4 separate regions of the Homo sapiens genome follow, and all the other regions are linked to region 1. The links are contacts of gene promoters, found by promoter capture Hi-C in blood cells and fetal thymus (Javierre and others, 2016). All regions are on one chromosome and are shown on one strand. The core of a region is centred on a gene start or on the middle of the fragment in contact, and the rest is flanking DNA. Distances in the headings are between cores, read along the strand shown. Region 1 holds the start of NPM1 (nucleophosmin 1). Region 2 holds the start of RARS1 (arginyl-tRNA synthetase 1). Region 3 overlaps CPEB4 (cytoplasmic polyadenylation element binding protein 4). Region 4 holds the start of CPEB4 (cytoplasmic polyadenylation element binding protein 4).

Region 1 (4,029 bases), core at 879-3,378:
GTCAGGTCTAACTTTTGAACTAGTTTTTCACTATTTTAGCTACCAGAGGGCAAAGCAGAATGATCAATTCCTAGATTTCTTGAACAGAAACCTCTACAGACACCCATAAAAGACTATAATTCCATTCTCTCATCATACCATATTTCATCTCTAACTACGCTGATAGGTACTGTTATTCTGCATAAACAAGCTCAATGGTTTAGTAAATCTCAACCTGAAGCAATTATCTGAAACCAAATGTAATGTCCAATGTTAAGTTTCCCACTATTTAAAACAGCTGATTTACCTACCTAAATTCCCAAATGGCAATTTCGAAATGAGAACGGTTACAAACATGAATAGCTTACTATTACAAAAGAAAAATGACAAAAGTAAAAGAACCGAAGTTTGCTACAGGGATCAACACTCCACTCTTTAAAGCAACAGAAAGTGACATACGCCTCAAACTATATTCAGAAATTATGTTTAAGACAAGGAGGGTTCTTTCCGATAGTTATCAAAAAGTACTGATATAAATTTACCAGAATTCTCAGCTATCCAAAATAACTAGGAATTAAAGCCTTAATGTTTTGAATACATATGTCTACTCTCACTCCATGAATGGGCAAAATTCTTCAAAACACTGTCAGAATAAAAATTTTAAATGATTCCATTTAACTATCATCTAACCGTTACCAATACATATACATGCTTAAATGTGAACAGACGTTTAATTAACAAATCTCAGCACGGATAATGAACAAGATAAAATTCACGGTAGGATTTGCATTTACTTCAAAGTCTGAATAGTACAAAGATTAGGCTTCTGCAATTAATCCTACTGAGATCAAAAACCCAAGTGGGACTCTCCTTTTTGGGGCAGGACTACCGCAAGTCGAGGGGGGTGGTGCTCCCAAAATTCTGCGAATAGTCTTAGGTCTTGATCTGACTCAAACCGAACACTCTACGTGTTTCTTGTATTTAGAAAAGCAGTTTGGTCAATGCCGCACAAATGGCGGCATGCGAGGACGTCCCCCTAAAACGAAGCCTCATTAATATTCACGAAGCAGCAGCTACGGAGTCAAGCGTCTTGGTTTAGATTTAGTCTCTTATTGCCTTTACTAAGTACAACCTTCGTTAAGTGAGTTTATCTCTGGGCACCAGTATCCTCATCTGCAAAGTGGGGCTAGCTCCACCTACCGCAGTGAGACAGAAAAGGGGCTCAAAAAAATGAGAGCTGCCATCACAGTACATGCTGTAAGCACTGAACAAAGACCTCCAGAACCCTAGTGCTACCAGCCTCTTAACATTTCCCACTTCAACAGAGCCACAGCATCCCTGGCTCACGAGTGGCAACACGCCGGTGAGTCCCGGATGTAGCGCCCACACCCCCCTCCCTCCCCCAACCACGTGGCAACCACGTGCTCCCAGCGGTTGCGGCCTCCTCACGCCGCGCCGCGCCTCCCCACCCCCAGTAACTGGCCGAAGCACGCGAGGTAAGTCTACGTCCGGCAGCTCCAGGCTCTGAGGCCAGAATAACGCCAGGCTGTGCATCTACCCGCTCCAACAAGCAGGCCCATGCTTCCCGGTGAACCCAGCCTCCAGGACCACCAACCCGGGGCCTGGCATCAGAAGCCTATGAACCACCGCCGTTAGAAAATAAACCACGCCTGGAGCTCCGCCACGTATCCCCGGCAAAGGCCGAACTTCCAGGCGGCCGGTTCCACTTTACCTCAGGCCCCGGGCCTCGGACCGCTCACGCCCCAGACGCTTCAGGCCGCTCGTCTCCTCCCCCTTCACGCCACCGGCTCCCCCCGCGGCTCCAATCCCTCCAGGTCCAGGGCTCAGGCAGCTCTTCCCACCCGCTCAGGCCTCCCGTCGGTCTGGCGGTCTCCACCAGACCCGGTTGCAGCCGGATTCCCGCCCCTCACCCCCACCCTCACCGCCACCAGGCCCCGCTCGGCCTCGCTCCAGCTCCCCCCAGCAGTTACCGAAAAGATAGTTCTGGGGCCTCAGGGGGCTCATGTCCATGTCCATCGAATCTTCCATCGGGTGGCGGCACGCACTTAGGTAGGAGAGAAGGCGGACGGAGATAAAAGAACGCTGCTCCAGAGAACAACCGCGCAGGACGGAATCACACCAGGGAAAGGACGCAGGCTCCCCGCGCTTATATATAGACCCTGAAGATCTCGCGAGCGCTTCCCAAGTCCCGCCTCCGCGCGCGTGCTCCGAAGCCCTCCCACCCCCGTACCGTAGCCGTCCTGCGCAAGCGCTTTTCAACCCCACTCCTTTCTACCTCGCCCCCACCTCCTTCCAGGTACTCCGCGGGCTCCCACCGAGCACGCGCACTCGTACACTGGCCCCACCCCTCCGCTGCTGTCGCCTGTGCGCACGCGTGCTTTCCAGTCGTAACGCGCACTCCCCACCTCCAACCCTTCCACGTCCTCTCCCGCTCAAGCGCGCCGGCCTCCCGCCAAGAGTCTGCGCAGCCCACCCTGCAAAATGGCGTCGGCAGCCCTTAGCTGTGTAAGATATGGCGGGTTAGCCGGCTGCGAATGAGCCAGAGAGCACCTCGATTCACCTTTCCCCATCCCCTAGTGCCCTGCAAGCCTCCAAACAGGCGTAATCACTTCAGGAATTTTTTACTTGCCTGAAGGCTTCGGATCGCAGTTAATCGTTACCCCAAAGTTCAGGTGCCAGAGAGAGTGAATTGCGGCTTATTCTTTGTTAGGAAGGAAAGATGTAGTTACCGGCCAGACTTACGGAACTTTGTTTTTCAGCTCTGTCCTTCCTGAGAAAACATCTCCAAAGTCCTTATCTTTACGTAACTTGGGGGCCAAAAGGGGACTGAATCAGTCTCCAAATTAGCAAGGACATCGCCCTAAGAGAGCTCGGAGGGTGGGCCGACTCTGACTTCTTGCCGCTCTTAATCTTTAACATTCCTCCTGAAAGAAAGCGGGTGACTTGTAAGAACTACAGAAGCCTTAATTCGAATATTTGGGAGCGAGCATGGGAATTAACGTTTTAAGCTACACCTTGACAAACTCCGAGGCACCCCAGCACCCCGCGGGCATTGGGGCGTTCTGAAGACCCGTAATCTTTTTTTTTTAAGCCTCAACATATCAAACAAATTTAAGAAGTGAGGAATACAAATGATAGCCTCAGAAAGGAAGACACCCCCACCCCAAGGCATTATTTCTTACAGGAAAATTATAGAGACGATTTCAGTGTCTATCAAGAGAGGAATGAACAGTTAAATTATAACATGTCCATATTATGGGTTAGTTGTGGACACATACTAACGCATAATATGGACATGTTATAATTTAACTGTTCCTTTCTGAGAGCTCCTGTGTCACATAAAGCTTTGAGTCACTTAAATTTGTTATGCCTTTTTTTGTGTGTGTGTGGAGACAGAGTCTCGCTGTGTTGTCCAGGCTGGAGTGCAGTGGCGTGATCTCCGCTGGATGCAACCTCCGCCTCCCGGGCTCCCGAGTAGCGAGGACTACAGGTGCATGCCACCACGCCCGACTAATTTTTGTATTTTAGGAGGGATGGGGTTTCGCTGTGTTCTCCAGGCTGGGCTCAAACTCCTGACCTCGGGTGATCCGCCTGTCTCTGCCTTCCAAAGTGCTGGGATTTCAGGCGTGAGCCACCGCACCCAGCCAGCATTTTTTTTTTTTTTAAACGGGGTCTCGCTCTCTTGCCCAGGCTGCAGTGCAGTGGCAAGATCTCTGACTCACGAGTTCTGCCTCTTGAGTTCCAGCAATTCTCGTGCCTCAGCCTCCCAAGTAGCTGGGATTACAGGTGCCTGCCACCGCGTCCAGCTAATTGTTGTATATTTAGTAGAAACAGGGTTTCGCCATGTTGGCCTCCCAAAGTGCTGGGATTACAGGCGTGAGTCACCACACCCGGCCACTGTTTTATTTTTTATTTTAATTTTTTTTTTTTTTGAAACCGAAGTCCCGCTCTGTCATACAGGCTGGAGTGCAGTGTTATGATCTTGGCTCACTGTGACCTTTGCCTCCTGGGTTCAAGTGATTGTCCTGC
Region 2 (4,029 bases), core at 692-3,191, 2.9 Mb after region 1:
TCACGCCTGTAATCCCAGCACTTTGGGAGGCCTAGGCAGGTGGATGACTTGAGGCCAAGAGTTCAAGACCAGCATGGCAAACATAGCGAAACGCTGTCTCTACTAAAAATACAAAAATTAGCTAGGCATGGTGGCGCATGCCTGTAATCCTAGCTACTTGGGAGGCTGAGGCAGGAGAATTGCCTGAATCCCAGAGGCTGAGGTTGCGGTGAGTCGAGATCGTGCCACTGCACTCCAGTCTGCTTGACAGAGCGAGACTCTGTTTCAAAAAAAAAGAAAAAGAAAAAGAATATATTAACCACACATACATGTGTTTTGGGAGACAGGAATCGGAGTAAGTATATAATGGGATATGCCTCATGTCTCATATCCCTAGTTCTTTTCTTTGGCTCGATAAACACTCTGATTTAGCAAGAGTAGTTAAGTTTCAGGTTGACCAACCTGCTTTTATTCCCAAATCCTATGACCTGGGACTCTTAAAAAACCCAAATGTCCTTTGTCACATTCAAAATAGCTCAAGGGTCTGCCTTTCACCCTTTCTGGGACTAAACAATTTTCCCATTTCTTCCTGTTTCCAGTGTCTTAGGTCCTAGACTAGACCAGACCAGGCTTTGTAGTTTAACATCTAAAACTAAAGACATGTCAATTCAGAAAGAAATAAAGCTTCCAACTTAAACTGCAAAACTCAGGGGGAGTTCCTCACCTGAAATTTCAGAATACTTACTGGGAGATAGCTACAGCCAAAACCAAATTGCCAAAAATGAGCATACATTATGTTCCAGGAGCTGAGCTAAAAACACTTTTCAGAAATTACCTTCATGATTATCACAACCAAGTGAGGCAAAGATAAATACATACCGATAAATAAATGGCTCAGAAATGTAAAGAGCTTGCCAATTTACTTGACTAACTTGTACTTTGTGACTGCTGATTAAGTATACAGCCGTAACAGGACAGAGTACTGTGAACTATCTTCCTACCATCCCTCCCCACCTGGGCATAAAAGGTAATGGAACTGTTCCGCTTTCACTTTTTTTTTTTGTAGGGGGACGGAGTCTCACTCTGTCGCCCAGGCTGTGGTGCAGTGGTGTGCTCTCTGCTCACTGCAAGCTCCGCCTCCCGGGTTCACGCCATTCTCCTGCCTCAGCCTCCCGAGTAGCTAGGAATACAGGGACCCCCCCCAACACAGCCGGTTAAGTTTTTTTGTATTTTCAGTAGAGACGGAGTTTCACTGTGTTAGCCAGGATGGTCTCGATCTCCTGACATCGTGATCCGCCCACCTCGGCCTCCCAAAGTGCTGGGATTACAGGCATGAGCCACCGCGCCCGGCCGCTTTCACTTTTATATGGTGTGGCTGCTCCTTCCCGACGAATGCTGAGGGCACAGAGCAAGCTCCGCTGGTCTGATAATGAATCACCCCATGGGCTTATTAGGAATCCTCTCGCTCAGTAACCCGGGAAGAACTGCGGCTGAGCTGCAAACCAAGACCCAGAGCTCTGAATGTATTCCCCCCTTGTCTATCTCCCCGCATCCCCTAAATCGCGTGTGTATGCAGAAGAGGAGGTGGATTGTAGGGAGAGAACTGTTCTGAACATGCCAGGCTCCAGCCCACCGAAGACGCTGGTTTGGGGGAGGCCTGGGAGAGGGTGGGGACCCTCCATTCCGCTGAAAATCACAGTCACACGGGCTTTGAAATGATGGGTGCTTCCTCTCTCAACCCTTCCTGTTCCCACAGGGACCGTGCCGCTCCACTCTGAGAGGACCAGGATGGTCCTCGCCTAGCTGTCCCGCCCCCGAAGCCGCTTGGGCAGGAGTCAGAGCCTGCTCCATCTCTTTCAGGCCTTCCCGCCGGTCTCCTGCGTCCAAACCTGCTGCAGCAGCCGCGCGGAGCACTCAGACACCAGTACGTCCATCCTCCCATCAGCGTCTCACTCGCCAAGTGGACGGAAGCGGAAACGGTCAGCCTCTCCCGGAAGCGGAAACCCCCTCCGGTCCGCTGTCCCGTCGGACTGGGTGCTGGCGCCTCTGCTGCCTCCTGGCGGGATCCAGTAGACACTGCGAGGAGAACCCGCGGGGATTTCGGTCAGGAGCGAGGCCGCAACTCAGGGACGTTTGGGCGAGGGGAGAGGAATTGAGCAGACACTAACCAGAGCTGCTCTGTGCTTGGATAGACTAGGACAGTCACTGACCTAGAGCTTCTGGCTCTCAAAGGCCTCACTTTGCCCCTTTGTGAAATGGGCACAAAACTAACAAATCCATTCATTTATTCAACAAACATTTATTGTGTACTTTAAAATGCCAGACAGTATTCTAGGCTCTGGGGGCACAAAGAAAACAAAACAGACACGATCTCCCCTCTCACGGCAGACACATTTTAGAATGGAGAGAGAAAATAGACCAAAAAAGGCAATAATCTCAGGTAGTTTTAATTGCTAGGAAGGCAATGTGATAGAGTGACTTGGGTGAGAGAAGACATCTCTAAGCAAGTGACATTTGAGTTAAAATCTTATTTATTTTTCCAGTTTTATTGAGGTATAATTGACAAAGATTGTATATCATAACGATGTACAACGTAATGTTTTGATATATGTATACATTCTGAAATGATTACCACAACCAAAATAATTAACATAACCTTCATCTCATACAGTTATCATTTGCATGTGTGTGTGTGTGTGTGTGTGCGCGCGCGCGCGCGCGCGTGTGTGCTGTGAACATTTAAGATCTATTCTCATCCTGGGAAACAGCTAAGACCTCGTCTCTACAAAAAAATGGAAAAATAGCCGGGCATGGTGGCATGTGCCTGTAGTCCCTGGTATATAGGAGGCTGAGGTGGGAGGATCACTTGAGCCCAAGAATTTGAGGCTGCGGTGAGCCATGATCATGCCACTGTACTCTGCCTGGATGACAGAGTGAGACCTTTTCTCTCTCTATTTAAAAACAAACAAAACGAAACGAAAACGAAAACTGCAAGTATACAATATACATTACATCTCTAGAATCTATTCATCCCGCCTAACTGAAACTTTGTAACTTTGAGCAACATCTCCCATCTTTCCTACCTCTGAAGCCCTGACAACCACCATTCTATGCTCTGCTTCTATGAATCTGAATTTTTTAGATTACACATATACATGGGCTAATGTAGTATTTGTCTTTCTGTGCCCGGCTTATTGCACCAACATAATGTTCTCCAGGTTCATCTATGTTGTCACCCATAACAGGGTTTTCTTTTATAAGGCTGAATAATATTTCATTGTATATATATTGAGTTAAAATTATAAACAGCAAACCTGGGATATATGTTCTAAGAGGGCAGGGACCTTAATTATCTTGTTCACTCTTCTCTATGACTCCAGAACTTAGAAAGTAGCACTCTAAACGTTTTCGCTTCCGTGCCTCATAAAAGTATTTTAAAAATTCATATCCCAGTGTATACTTTTAAAAGTTGACATCGAGCTAGGCACAGTGGCTCATGTCTGTAATCCTAGCACTTTGGGAGGCTGAGGCAGGCAGATTTCTTGAGCCCAGGAGTCCAAGACCAGCCTGGAAAAAATGGTGAAACATCGTCTCTACCAAAAATACAAAACATTAGCCAGGCATGGTGGTGTGCACCTGTAGTCCCAGCTATATAGGAGACTTAGGAGGCAGGATTGTTTAAACCCAAGAGTTTGAGGTTGCAGTGAGCCATGATCTGGCCACTGCACTCCAGCCTGGGCAACGGAGTGAGACTCTGTCTCAAAAAAAAAAAAAAAAAAAAAAAAAAGACATCTAAAAACTCTTTTCACAACTTCTGGGAATGGATTATTTTCTGGCATGATGTTTCATAAGTGCTCTCACTATATTTTCGTCAAAACTGTGGATTTGCAAGTTTAGCTTGTCCAATTTATGGAACATGTCGGCCATATTGTTTCATTGGCAAAGCCAGTCCTCTTTGTCCAATTAAATAATCCAAATTATTTTACTTAATTTTTAACAAGCTTAAAGTTTGCCTTTATCTTTTTTCCTTTTAAATTAATTAATTAATTT
Region 3 (4,029 bases), core at 502-3,001, 2.5 Mb before region 1:
AGGCTTGAGCCACTGCGCCTGGCTGGAAACATCTTTTTAATGAACTCACCAAATTTTATTTGTAGCTACAAAGCAACAACTAACTTTCTTACCTAATCATTTCAGCTTCTGGCTAACCTTCTTACCTCTTTTACATTAAAGCCCCCTTCGGAATTAGAGCTTTTAATACCTAGGCATCTTGAGTGTCCTGTTTGGGTACCAGGTGAGCATTTGATGAGTTCATTCCACTGAACTCAAAACACCAGTATTTCATAAGTAAAGTATAATAAAATAAAAATTGAGATGTCTGAATATTAATATAACCCAGTACCTGCCTGCTGTTTTGTCTGGTTGGGTTTTTGAGAACTCATCTTTTTTATTTTATTTTTTCAGACAGAGTCTCGCTCTGTCTCCCAGGCTGGAGTGCAATGGCACGATCTTGGCTCACTGCAACCTCCGCCTCCCAGGTTCAAGTGATTCTCCCACCTCAGCCTCCCGAGTAGCTGGGATTACTGGCACCCGCCATCATGCGCGGGTAATTTTTTTTGTATTTTTGTAGAGACAGAGTTTCACCATGTTGGCCAGGCTGATCTCGAACTCCTGACCTCAGGTGATGCCTCCACCTCAGCCTCCCACAGTGCTGGGATTACAGGCATGAGCCACGGTGCCCAGCCAAGAACTCATCTATCTTTAATCATTATCCAGGTTTGGGCACATTCAGAATTTAATTTCTAAAGGGAGAAGGAAGGCATTAGGATTTCAGCATGTGAACCTATTTGATGAGCAAAATTCAATCTTTGAAGGCTCTTGGTATTGATTTTGTTATAAATATAAAAAATACTGCCTGGTCAGCAGCCCTAATCTTAAGGAACATTATGACAGGAAAAGCAGTAGTCTCTGGAGGCCAGCTGCAGAATTTGGAACCAGAAGCCTGGCATACATCATGCCGAAGGCATAGGCTATATTTGGTGACATGACTCAACCTAGCCAAATATAGGCAACAGATACAGTGTGACTCTGGGGATCTACACTACCAAATCCTACAACCTAGAAAAGATCCATACGTCAACTAGGCAATTCTATGCTAAGCATTTGCCAGTTGGAAGAACCAATATTTACCAACAGACTGACTTAGAATAGGTGGGGGCAGGAGGTGCTAAAAAGAACAGTATGTACTATCATATCCTTTTAAGACACTAACTAAAGTAACCAAGTCAAAAAATAAAAGGAGAAAAGACCAGAGGAAATCCTCCTTTACATTAGCAGTATATATAAGTATTACTTTCATTAATTAGGTAAAATAAGTTATTTTCTAAAGAATAATCCAGATATTACTACTACTGATAATTCAACAGGAAATAATAAAAATAAATGCTGCCATTTCAAACACACAAACACCAAAAAGTATCAAATGTATCTGCAGCACAATTAGATTTCACGCTATCTATAAGCTTTTCTTTTTCACAGTCATGCCAACAATGTTGACAACATGGTGCAGGCCAAGGAATGATAATAGGGAATAACTCTAAAGTGACAAGTAGCATAAAATTTTTAAGGATCAACTTTTGATTGATTCACCCTATAAAAATGTGGATACTCCAAAGAAAAGCAGGGTGTTTGCAGAGGAGTCTTCAGTGAGCACCATTAAAAATTTCTAATGCACACAAATATATACATACACATACATTTGCAGTTGTTGATTGCCTAACTAGAAGTGCTGCTCCTACCTCTGCTCCTGCTAATTTTGTTTAGCTCACATCTAAGTAAATCAAAACTATACCGTCATAAGTAATATTTTAAAGGAGGTAGTCCTCCTACCCCTGCACATCTTCTGTTTTTACAAACTCCACTTGAGACTTGCAGCAAGATGGCGCTGTGGGGACCTGGACATCGGACAGCAAAGCTCAAGAAATGTGTAATAAATCCACTGGTTTTGAATGCCAACTTTATATACTTACACAAATGCAGAAGACATAGCAATATGAACAAAACAGCATTCAATATGTTCTATAATTTAATGGTATAAATTTAATTTTTAATAATTTAGTGTATTGACACAAAAATAACTCCCCAAATCAAAATCAGTAAGCTTATTCTACCCCCTTATCTATCTGTGCTACAACCAACTTCCAACAAAGACATTCCCATGCAAAATCACAAAGAAGGAACTGGCTGAGACAGATATCAGCTGAAGAGTCTTGTCCCCTCCCAAAGAGCCACTTAAAATTCACTAAACACACAGAGTTTAGGCTAAACAAAACCCTTCTCTGCTACAAATTTGGCTTTCAGCTCAAAAGCCAGTACTTACAAAAATCTTTGAATTAATGGCTTTCCTAACTCTCCACACTGCCATTTCCCTTCCCACATCAGGCACTCCAGCCATTCAGAACTGCTGGCCCATAACTTCAACTTCTGGGTAACTCCCTCTACCTAGAAGGCCCTCCTCTCTCTCTCTGCCCCTCAATGTCTTACCACTCAAGCCTCCACACTTTTGTCCCAGCAGTTCCCCTGCTAGGCCTCACATCTTATGAGAAGCCTTCCCTGCCCCACATCATCCTTGCTTTGATTCAGATAACCCTCTGTACTCCTTCCAGTATTCTTTACACTTATTACACCATATTTACATTACTTGTTTTAATCTCTTGCTGTAGGGCAATGAGATCTTTATGGATTTTGGGTGTGCTACCCCAGAGCCTGGAGCAGAGAAAGGTGCTCAATAAACAACTGTGGAAAATGAATGAAGCAAAGTCAGCAGTTGATGATCTCTCTGCCATGGAAGATGCAGTGTAATGGGTAGAGTCAAGCCGGTATCATCTTGTGACCTAAGTCAAATTATTTAGCTTTGCTGAACCTCAGGAAAACAGAGATAATTCCATTGACTTCACAGAGCTGTTGTGAGACAGTCTTGAGATAATGTTTGCAGAATGCCAAAAAAAATCCCTCAATATGCAGTAGGTACTTAACAAAATTAATTCCTTTCCCTTCCCCAGTAATAAGCCGAAGATAACCAACAATTTTCCACTTGTAAGAGAAAGGACAAGTAGGATTTATTTTGGCCAAAAAGTTCCAAACTGGAACCTTGGAAAAGGGAGGGGCAAATCTGGGGGATATTTCAGCTTCAGAAAAATGAGAATTTGCTAGTGTCCTTGGTTAAAAACAGGGATATAAGTCTTCTCAGGAAGAGAGAAAAGAACAAAACCTAACCCCTTACTTTCATCAAAGCCAAACTGGCAAAGATACATAATAATTTTAATGAAAACTTCAAAAATTCAACCTAAAATTTTTCTTTTCAATAAAACCAGAGAGGATCTTCATTTTGAACCAAAACCCCAAATTTAATGTTTCAATTGTAATATGATGATTGAAAAACAGATTGTAGTAGTGGCAAAAGAAAATAACACTTATCTGTAAGATGGGAGAGGTCAATGGAATATGTTTCTACAGATGGAGGAAGGTTTCATAGAAGGGAAGGACTGCTTTGACTACAACTCGGGGCAGGTGCGAAGCTGCAAGATCTAAAAGCATCTAAGAATTTCAGGCAGAAGGGAATGTCCAGAGAGAAACTAGTAAGAAGCTGACCCAATTAAGGAATTCAAAAGATTTCCTACTGCCAGTAAAGCTAACAACAAACCAGCAAGCAGGAAGGCTATTTTTATCCTTGCCAGAAGCCTTCTGACTCTAGATGCTACATTTAGAGGACAGAGCAACAAGATAACTTGCCTTAAGAGGATGTTATGATACCAGAGATTAATGGCAATTTTTTAAGCTCTAAAAAACTCGGCAAAACTAGGTGTAGTTTTTGTCCAAGCTAAGCCAGCCAAAGTCAGTTGGAAAAAAAAAGGTGAAAAAAATATAATGGAAAGAAAAGTGGAAAAACAGACCAAGTAGTAGAAAAAATTAAAGCAATCCAGAAAAAAAGCCAAGGCAGTAAATTAAAATTCTCCTACCTTGCAAAAAGTTTGCTTAAAAGAAGCATGTGTTACAAGAGACATATATTAAAAGAACCAATGAATAAAGAACTGGCCCCAAGGTGAAAATAATTTTGACAAA
Region 4 (4,029 bases), core at 914-3,413, 2.5 Mb before region 1:
GTGGGGGATGGGGACTGGCAGGAGACCTCCTTTGCTGCTGATGCTGGCTGTGATGATGCTGGAAATGAGGGTGATGTGGGTGGTGCTGTGAGAGAGGCCCGATCTGAGGAGAGAAGCTGCCTCCAAAGCCAGGGCTGACATGATGGGGGAAATTTTGAAACAACAGAGCACCGTTATTAGCCGAAGCAGCAGGGACCCCTCCCTGGTGAAAGAAACTTGCATCTTCATTGATTATTGTAGAGGAGGAAGGCGCTATCGCTGCTGACCAGTTACTGAAACCAGTAAGAGACGATGCGCTAGATGTCAAGGGTTGGGTTGAAGTACCTAGCCCAGTGGCTTCTTGATAATCAAACCCTGTCAACACTGGAGATTCGATCCTTATTTTCTCCTTCCCATTGCCATTTTCCGAAGAATTGTCCCCTTGATTTTCTTCTGATTTTGCCTTCTCTGTTTCAGGCAGTATTCCAGCTTCCTGACCTGGACTTGGGGAAAGCTGCTGCTTTTCTAAGGGGTCTTGCTGTTCCTGTTGCTGACTTTTTGCTTTTTCTGACCCCAAGATCTCATCCTGAATGTTATGGGTAGCTGGAGCAGGAAAAAGCCAAGCTGACCCAGCACTGCTGCCATTGGCAGCTGTGTTATTATTTATAAAAGCAGCAGGGCTGGGGGTGGCATTTTGGTGATGGTGTGGAGGCTGCAGATGTGGATGGAATCTGACTGGAAAAGCAGATTTATTCCCAGTATTGCTTTGCACTAGCACTCCAAACCCGTAATCCCCCATTTATTATCTTTAGGAGCAGAATCTCACAATAAAAAATGACAACCTGATGTCTCACGCCTTTTTTTTCCTCTACCCCAAATTTAAGTTGTTTGCTTGCTTGCTTGAAATGTCTTATTTATAGCTAGCTCAAAGATCGCAGCTTATCACCTTAAATTGTTCTGATTTGGAATTCTGGTCTCTGAAAGAAAAAACAACTCTTAAAAAAATCTCTTAAAACATTGACTTGGATCCAATTGGGCTTATTTTTAGGAGGGAATAAAAATGAAGAGGGTAAAAATCAAGTCTTTGGTTAGTAAAATAGGCGCTTTCTTTTTCCAAAGGAAAATGTACATGAATGACAAAAACAGAGCTTCTCAAGCATCTATGGATGTAGAAGAATAAGCCTTGCGCGGAGTAAAAATATAGATATATATAATTTAACAATCACATATGGTTTTCCTCAGCAGTTTAGATTCACTCACATAAAAATTAGAATAGGACTAAGAGGGGAATACGTTCTTTTCTTGGCAGCTTGGTTAAAAAAAAATCAGGAATAATTTAAGAACATTATATATTATATATTTATATATATAGATTATATTAGGTTATCTGGGGTGGGAAGTGAATTCCTGGTTTCGGGAGAGGAAATCAGCATTGACTAATGGAAAGATGATTGCAGGGAGGTTTCTGCTGTTCCTGGTCCTGTTTTCTGCTCTTTCGCAGGGTGCAGTTTTGGCCTCTGGGGCTGTTCCTGAGGCTCCGGGTGCAGATCTTGCTGCGGTCGCTGTTCCTGGGCTCCCCGCGGCTTCCTCTCCCCCATGAAAGGGGTTGGAAACACCCGTTTCTCCCTCTTGCGGGGGTCGCGATCAGGAGGGATTAGCGAGACTCGACGAGGGTGAGCGGGCGGCCTGGGGGTGCGGGGACCGAGGGGGCGACCTGGAAGGTCCTGCGGTTTCTGCCTCTTCCCCTCTCTGCGGCTCCGGGGTTTTTTTCCCTCATGGGACCCAGGGGCGGTTTGTTCAGTTCCCTCAGTTCGATTCTCCGCAGAGAGGGAAAAAAGAGGAAAAAAAGGAAAAACCCACTACCGTAGTTATTTTAAAGGAGAAGGGCCTCCCCCCTCGGCTTTCTCTCTCTTTTCCCCCAGAATTTTTTTTTAAACTATAATTTAGAAGGCTTTTGTTTCTCCTCACGGTTGCTGGGCCGTCGCCGCCGTCGCCGCTTTACCCTGGTCCCGCAGTCCCCGCTGTCGTTGTTGAGGACTCCTCCTGGTTCTTCTTTTTCTTTCCTTCTTCCTCCTCTTCCTCCTCTGCTGTCGCCGCTGCTGCCGCCGCCGCCGCCGCCACCGCCTCCCGGTGCCCGGGTCCCGCAGCCGCGGCTGAGTCCTTCTCCTCAGGACCGAGCCGAGTGAAATGACAACCAGCTGGAAAGACCCAGAGACACTTCCGGTTCGAAGAGGGAGGGGTGGGGGTAGCACTCATTCCCCACCTACCTGCCGGAAGACCAATCATCTGTTAGAACTCAGGCGAGGCCACGCCCCCTCGCTTCAGAGCTACTCCCAGGAAGGTCGAAAAGTTACCTCCAGAGACGCCTCTTCCGTCTGCGCCTCGCCTAGTGAGGCCCGGCGCCTGGAACCCGCTTCCCCCACCCAGAGTGAGCGCAGCAGGTCGCCATCTTTTGTGTGGGCAAGGGACTCCTTTGATATTTCTCTTCCCTAACTGGGCTTTGCAGGAGGAGCAATAGGGACGTGTCAAGGAGAACGGATTCCTCGCTCACGAAGGCATACGGTCAAGGTGTTGGAGATCGAAGTGGCGGCCCGTGAAACCGCGGATGAATGAGAAGGGTGCCCACAGTAAAGGTGGTGCTCCAAGCATCACGTGCTCTGGCCCGAGCTCCGCCCCAGAGGGATCTGGAAGGGGAGGCGGGTCTTGCCAGCAGCTGTGCGGTGCCTAGAACTGCGTTTGCCCTTGCCCAGAATGTAGACCTCACGAGGGACTCTCCCTTAACCTTCCATTCGCTCACCCGCACCTCCCACTCTCCCATTCTGCTAGGCTCGCATCTGGTGCAGTCTCCCAGGTGCAGAGATGCAGCTGAGGCGTCTGTGGCTATGCCCCCGTATCATCCCGATCTAGTACACCTTACACGCAATACCAGAGGGAAAATTCCAAAACTAAAATTTTATCTTGACCCTCACATGCTCCGATTTCTTCTATGGTTGCCCATTATTTCGAAGATAAAGGCCAAACTTGTTAGTCTGGTATTCAAGCCTTTCTACCTAATGGGTGGTATATCTTAGTGCCTCTTCCCCCTCCAAACACACTCTCAATGCCTTTTTACATGTCCTTTCCACTCTTCTCCTTTGGTAAATTCCTATTTATTTCTAGGAATCAGTTCAAAAGCCACCAACAGCATCTTCTGAATTCTCTCTTATAAGCGTCCACGGCCCTGTGTACCTCTCGTGCTTGTTTCTCACACTATATTGTGATGGTTTATGTCTTCCAGACCTGTGCTGGACCGTGGGCTCTTTCAGGAGCAGACATTGTAGATAGGAGACATCAGTGAATGAATCCTGAAAACGTGAATGAACAAACCAGCAACAATGAAGTCTTCCCTGAGTGACAGCCCCCCAACCCACTGCCACCCCTTCCACCCGTCACCCACCCCCCACCCCTCACTCCTGTTTCCAAGTCTGAATTAATTATTTCCTTCCTTTTGCCATTTGGTTTGGAGCTCACATATCAGACTTTTCATTATGTTTGGTACTCAAGGGCTTTAATGTCCTGTTTATCTTTGTACATTCCCAACGCTATGACCACCATCAGGGCTTAGGATAATGCTTTGCTCTCAGCACAGCTTTAAATATGTTAAATAAGTGAGTATTTTCCTTTAGCAGGAAGAAAAATGAACAAAGAAATCAGGGTAGAGCCAGAAGTAACTGGCACAACTAGAGGGAAAAAAAAGATACCAAGATTAATGAAAAATAGTATGAACAAAGGTGGCTTCCATTTCATTTCCATAGCCTTCCTCTAATGGTCTCAACTTCTGCCTCAGTCTGTCAATCCTCCATCACTTCCGTGTAGAACACCTGAGGGCCTTCAATCGGTGATTTTATTCTCTTTCATTGTGCCATGAGCATGAGTCTTGTCTCTGTAACTCTACTATGGATTCTTTGAGCATAGAGATTGGGTCTTACCTGCTGTTTATTCCCTACAACTGGACATGCCTGGAAACTTAGCTGGTTCCGTCAGGTGTCTTTTCCGCCAGAATGGTTTCCT

Evidence for each region. The method cuts DNA at HindIII sites, captures the fragments that hold promoters and counts their contacts. A CHiCAGO score of 5 or more calls a contact.
Region 2: the fragment with the promoter of RARS1 here is called in contact with the fragment with the promoter of NPM1 in region 1 in 1 of 17 cell types (total B cells); the score reaches 5.3 in total B cells.
Region 3: a fragment that was not itself captured here is called in contact with the fragment with the promoter of NPM1 in region 1 in 1 of 17 cell types (non-activated CD4 T cells); the score reaches 5.1 in non-activated CD4 T cells.
Region 4: a contact is called between the fragment with the promoter of CPEB4 here and the fragment with the promoter of NPM1 in region 1, in 1 of 17 cell types (naive CD8 T cells). The highest score is 5.7, in naive CD8 T cells.

What each region holds. Positions count from the first base shown.
Region 1 is chr5:171,385,948-171,389,976 of GRCh38, reverse strand. NPM1 (nucleophosmin 1) reads right to left here and starts at 2,128. Exons shown (of 11, transcript NM_002520.7): 1 at 1,971-2,128. The coding sequence starts at 2,028. It overlaps MIR3912 (microRNA 3912), which reads left to right and starts at 3,217; the gene lies at 3,217-3,321. RefSeq lists silencers at 1,408-1,467, 1,788-1,847. The HindIII fragment of the contact is 7,200 bases long and covers 1-3,346 here.
Region 2 is chr5:168,484,383-168,488,411 of GRCh38, reverse strand. RARS1 (arginyl-tRNA synthetase 1) reads right to left here and starts at 1,941. Exons shown (of 15, transcript NM_002887.4): 1 at 1,869-1,941. The coding sequence starts at 1,913. The HindIII fragment of the contact is 3,317 bases long and covers 666-3,982 here.
Region 3 is chr5:173,923,491-173,927,519 of GRCh38, reverse strand. The region is part of intron 2 of CPEB4 (cytoplasmic polyadenylation element binding protein 4); the gene reads right to left. Among named protein-coding and RNA genes, the nearest start is that of CPEB4, 37 kb to the right of the region's middle. The HindIII fragment of the contact is 638 bases long and covers 1,433-2,070 here.
Region 4 is chr5:173,886,483-173,890,511 of GRCh38, reverse strand. It overlaps CPEB4 (cytoplasmic polyadenylation element binding protein 4), which reads right to left and starts at 2,163. Exons shown (of 10, transcript NM_030627.4): 1 at 1-2,163. The coding sequence starts at 778. RefSeq lists enhancers at 1-392, 2,417-2,656. The HindIII fragment of the contact is 9,803 bases long and covers 1-4,029 here.